2 separate regions of the Homo sapiens genome follow, and region 1 is linked to region 2. Evidence: promoter capture Hi-C in 16 types of primary human blood cells and fetal thymus (Javierre and others, 2016). All regions are on one chromosome and are shown on one strand. The core of a region is centred on a gene start or on the middle of the fragment in contact, and the rest is flanking DNA. Distances in the headings are between cores, read along the strand shown. Region 1 overlaps LOC105378641 (a long non-coding RNA gene). Region 2 holds the start of CSMD2 (CUB and Sushi multiple domains 2).

Region 1 (2,710 bases), core at 56-2,555, 430 kb before region 2:
GATTCAGTTAGTATGAACTCCTTTTGTTCATTGCCCGTGGCATTTCCCCTTCTTTCTACCTGGAATGTGGGCTGATGTTGGAGGCACAGCTGCCATTTTGCAACCACAAGTTAATCATAAGGAAAAGGCTAAGAATGTGGTAGAAGTCTTGGCCTAGATGTCCCTGTGCCTTTGGGCCAACATAGCAACAACATCTTCTAGAGGCTTTCTTCTTACCAGAGAAGAAAGAAAAGCCCTGCTTGGCTTAAGTCATTGTTTCTCATTTTGTTATTAACGTAACGAATTCCTTCTATTATAGTATTATTTACTTCTATCTCTACAACAATTCTACTTGAGATTGAATTCTCTGCGTATCAGGTGGAGATTCAGAGGCTGAGAGCAGACAAGTGACCAGTCCAAGTACATACAGCTAGTACTGGGGAAGGGACGCAAACTGAGAACAATGCCATGAATATGTTTTGGCCCATTCATTTGATAAGAATTTCAGGATTTCTTATCTTGTGCCAGGCCTGGGTCCAACATTTGAGATACAAAGATGGATACAACAGGGTCCTTGCCATTGAGGTCCACCAAAGTGGGCCAAGTGAGAGATGATGGGAAGTTGCCCAAGGAAGATAGAGAGGGCTGGGTAGAATTAAGAGACATTTAGAAGGAAGAATCGTAGGATTTGGTGATAGATTCAAAGGAGAGGACGGATATCTAAGTTTGTGGCTTGAACACTTGGGAGAAATGTGTGGTCATGACTGGTATAGAGAATATGCAAGGAAAGGCAGGAGTGGTGGGAGGCAGGTGGGAGGAGCCTGGAAGGCAGGCAACCAGATGCAGAATGGATTTTTGAAGCAGGGCAGCTCTGGGGAAGCAAGGGCTCCAGGCTGTTGTCATGGGATTGGTGACTGAGATAGAGTGGAGGTGAAAGTTGGGGCTGGCCTGAAAGCCTCAGCTGCTAACTATTAATGCCATATTCCCTATTCAACCCCTTCAGGGCAGCCTGGGCAACTGGAGCCACAGAGGAACAGCAAGAGGAGGGCTGTGCTTTCACATTGGACCCTTATAGAGGGCCTTGGCAGGCTCCCCTTCTCTCCCCAGCCATTTTCTGGGCTTGAATTCAGCATTCAGTCGCTCTCCTCATTAGAAAGAGTGGCTCTGTGGGTCTGCAGGATCACTCAATACAGTAAGTGAGCCAACCCCAGGGGTTCTTTCAGGTAACTAGTACTTAAGCCCGCCATTAGCCACCATTAGGGATGCCTTTACTGCTTAATGATCACCAGCTACAGGGCTTGGTGGGGCTGGACAGATGGAGAGCAGGGAGGAGCTTCCCCACAAAGAGGCCATTCCAATGTTCTTCTCCTGAGACCCCAGAATTGAGGCTGCTCTGCCCTCCAGGCACAGGATTAGTTACAGATCACTGGCCTGTCTTGGTTAGAATAGGTAGAAATCTATATTTGATGAGTCTATGGGAAGAAGGAAGGGGATGCTAGGAGAAGCTAAGGCTCCTGTTTCTTTCTGATGGGTGGGATCTAAGGGTATTTGTGCTCTCTCTCTCTCCCTCCCTCTGTATGTGTGTGTTCGTGTGTGTGTGTGTGTGTGTGTATGTATTTTGGGGAACCTGTTCTCCGCTCTGAGGGGGTCTGGGATTCAGGGTTAGATATCCCACTTTATATAATAGAAATTTCCCCAGGATCCACTAGTCCATGGGTATCAATGAAATCATGGGTAACAGAAATGGCTCAAATTTCACTGTCTTGTGTCCCCACCTTACCACCCTCTGAAAAATCTCGCAGTTTCCCAAGAATCCCTGGGACGTCTCTGGCACTTCTGGACACATATGCTGCTGTTTCAGTGAGCACCAAGTTGCCCTCTAGGGGGTGCTGCTGCTCCACTGGGCATGGCCCTGCAGACATCATTGCTGCTCTGCAGGTGCTGGGAACTCCGGGCACTGTTGCTGCTCTGCTGGGCACTGCAGCCTCTCCCTCTGCACTCCTGGGCAACCCTTTGAGCTCTGCTGCTGGTCTGCCAGGCCCAGAAGTGTCCACCAGTCACCACTATTGCCCCACTGTTGCTTCACTGGGCTCTGTTATTGCTGCCATCTCTCAAGGGACACAGTTCAGGGGGCCAAAGCTGAATAGTGGTCTGTTGTAGGTGGAGAAGAAGGGAGGAAGCCTCTCGCCTCTTGTGCTGCACTATCTTGGAGCCATCCCAAACTTCTATAAAGTTGGATGACACAGGCCCTCCTGTCTTTTTTTTTTTTTTTTGAAACAGAGTCTCGCTGTTGCCCAGGCTGGAGTGCAGTGGCGCGATCTCGGCTCACTGCAGGCTCTGCCGCCCCCGGGTTCACGCCATTCTCCTGCCTCAGCCTCCTGAGTAGCTGGGACTACAGGCGTCCGCCACCTTGCCTGGCTAATTTTTTGTATTTTTAGTAGAGACAGGGTTTCACCGTGTTAACCAGGATGGTCTCGATCTCCTGACCTCGTGATCTGCCCGCCTCGGCCTCCCAAAGCCTCCTGTCTTTACTTAGGTATTTTATTGTTCAGCAAATATTCATTTTCTCTCCCCAAACCTCTAGGAGAGAAATGTACTTCCCAACCATTAATGCTGAGCTTGGCCGCGTGACTTGCTTGGGCTAATGGGACATTAGCAGTTACAAAGCAAGCAAAAGCTTGGAATGTGCTTGCGCAGTTGGACTTGCTGCCTTCTTGGGCCTTTGCCATTG
Region 2 (2,700 bases), core at 38-2,537:
TTTTGGCCAAATCAGGCTGCCCTAAGCCCGGAGCACAGCTTCTCTGGGGTGTGTCGGCAAAGGGGGCGGGGGTGCCCATCGCAGGTGCCTTTCCACTGCACGCGCCAGCAGAAGCCTCCTCTCTGGACCTTGCCCCTCCCAGTTTCCTCCAGCCTCCCCCCATGAAGCGTCTCTTCCCTCTCGCCGAGAGTTTGGCGTAGACAGCGAAGGAGCCATCGTGACTGGCGGAGAAGCCTGGAGTAGACGAGACAGAGACGGCGACCGAGTCGGGTGGGGGATGGGGTGGGGACCGACACTAAGCCCTTGGGGCCTAGAGGCAGCCGCTACTGGGGAGAGGTGGGGAGCAGCTCACGTCCTTGGGAAGAACTCTCTTGGTTTGGGGCCTTGGCTGGGAGGAGGAAGGGGAGAAGAAGAAGTAGGATCCGATTATTTAAATTTGGGGATAAATTGTACTAGTAACTCTTGCACCGTCCTTCCACCAACCTCACTCCCCACCCCCAACTCGCGTGCACACAGGGACCGCCTCTGCCACCCTGAGATTTTTGTCTTAGGGTAGGAGTGGGACCGCACTGGGTCAAATGAACCGGTTCCCCCCCCTCCCCACCCCACACACAACCCCCCTCCACCGCCCTCCAATTCTTAACCCTGCCTCTGTCTACGCACACACGCCCCTCTCCTGGGATGGGGTAGGAGGCTATTGTGAATGAGGCTCATAAGCATCGCCCCCGGCCCTAGATGGCAAGTTCAAAGCCACCACCCAAGATCAGCTGGTAAGAGCCAAGACTTGGGGAACGCGTCCTTCTTTGGTTACCTTTTCCCAGACAGGATTCCAATTTCCAAACGTGGAAGAGGTGTGCGTGTATGTGCCTGTGTGTGTGAGTGCGTGTGTCTCTGTCACTGTGTGTGTGTGTGTGTGTTTGTGTGTGTGTGTGTGGAGAGGGGGGTGTATTAATGGGTGATGTTATAAATGAAAACAGGAGGACTGAACTTAAAAGAAACTGGTCAATTGCAAAACAGACACGGATAAACAACCCTTTAGATGTAATTTGTGGTTTATCTGGAGGTGGAGGTGGCGCTGAAGAGGAACCCCCGCCCCCCAATATTTTATCCTTAGCTGCGCCTCCACCCCCAGCATTTGGAGCGGCGGAGAAGCGGCTCCGGAGTGATTAATCCGGGGATAATTCACCCCCTCCCGCCCCCCGGCGCGAACCCCGCGAAGCGGGATTGGAGCGAGTCATTTCCGAGAGCGCAGCGCGCCTCTCCCCGGCCGGGCGGACACTTGGTTCATTCCAGCCGCAGAAGCTCAGGGCTCCCGCGTACCGGGATTTTTTCCGAGCAGAAAAAAGCTCCAGAGCTCTCCTGACCTCCTTTCTCCTCGGCGGCGAGCGGAGCCTCTCCCTCGGCGCTGCCGGCCGCGCCATGCCGCGCTCGCGGGGACGGGAGCTGGGGCGCTGCGGCTGCCCCGCGGGGAGGGCTCGCGGCGAAACCGGGATTTCGGCGCTTGTGCCGGGCGCCGGGAGCCGCTGGGGCCGCCCGCCGCCGCCAACGCCGCCGCCTCTGCTGCTGTTGCTGGGCTGTGGGTTGCTCAGCGTCTCGGCCGCCGCGGGTGAGTCCAGCCGCGCCGAGGAGCCAGCGGCCGCCGCGCGCCCCACCCGAGCCCCGAGCCCACCCATCCTCGACCCGGTCCCAGTCCCTCCCCCCGCCTCTATCCCTGCCTGAATCTCCCACCCTCCCAGTTGCCTACTCTCATTCTCATCCCTGCCTCCGTCTCCCACCCCACCCTCAGCCACGTCCTCACCTCCACCCTCACCCTCACTGCTGCCCCAACCCCAGCCGCAACTTGGACGGATGCGGCCGGTGTGGGGGCCTGGGAGACAGACATCCCCGCCCGGGGTTGCGGGGCACCTGGTCTGTGGCTTCAGTTTCTCCAGCCTCCCAGCCCCCACGGTGCTAGGCTTTTTCCCGATAAACTTTCCGGGAGCCCTACTCCCCCGGCTCCTGATTCTGCCAGGCACGCTGGTCCTGGGGGCTGGAGAGGAACCGTGCGCCCCCTCCCCATTTCTGCGTCTGCAAGGTCTGCCCTTCCCTGCCCCCGCCCATTTTCTCCAATTGAAACCGGTGCCCCCTCTGGAACCGACTGCAGACTGCGGCCGCCATCCCCCTCCTCAAATGCTACCCCTCCCTCGGCGCTCGGAGCTAGGAGGGGGTTCAGGTGGACGCGTGCCCACGGTGGGGGTCCCGCGCATTCCTTGCAGGAGGGTGCAGGTGGGGGCTGGAGGGTGTTGAGGGATGGGAAGGAGGGGGTGGGGGTTGTAGCCCGAGGCGGGGGAGGGAGTGCCGCCGCCAGGCTTCGCGCTGCCACATTCCCCTCGGTGCTCACTCCGCGCCAAAGTGCCCTTTCCCGCGCCCTGCTGCAGCCGAGCGCCTCGGCTGCGGCAGCGGCAGCGGCGGCGCGGGCGGCGGGACCAGCTCCCGACGACCGAGTCCGGGAAGGGGCAGATCTAGCGGGTGCGGAGAGTCCCGGAACTTCGCGGGTGTCTGGCTGCAGCTTGCAGCGCGCGGGGGAGGTACGCGAACCTTCGAGGGAACCCGGTCCCCTGTGGAGGCTACTGGCCGCGACTGGTGCCCTCCCGCTTTACCCACAGCACCCCTCCGAAGCTCAGTTCTAGCTACAAGCTAGAAAGTTCCGTGTGCCCGGGT

What was found. The method cuts DNA at HindIII sites, captures the fragments that hold promoters and counts their contacts. A CHiCAGO score of 5 or more calls a contact.
Region 1: a fragment that was not itself captured here is called in contact with the fragment with the promoter of CSMD2 in region 2 in 1 of 17 cell types (erythroblasts); the score reaches 5.3 in erythroblasts.

Annotation. Positions count from the first base shown.
Region 1 is chr1:34,597,248-34,599,957 of GRCh38, reverse strand. The region is part of intron 3 of LOC105378641 (a long non-coding RNA gene); the gene reads left to right. Among named protein-coding and RNA genes, the nearest start is that of MIR552, 71 kb to the left of the region's middle. The HindIII fragment of the contact is 2,706 bases long and covers 1-2,658 here.
Region 2 is chr1:34,163,817-34,166,516 of GRCh38, reverse strand. CSMD2 (CUB and Sushi multiple domains 2) reads left to right here and starts at 1,287. Exons shown (of 71, transcript NM_001281956.2): 1 at 1,287-1,606. The coding sequence starts at 1,420. The HindIII fragment of the contact is 6,831 bases long and covers 1-2,700 here.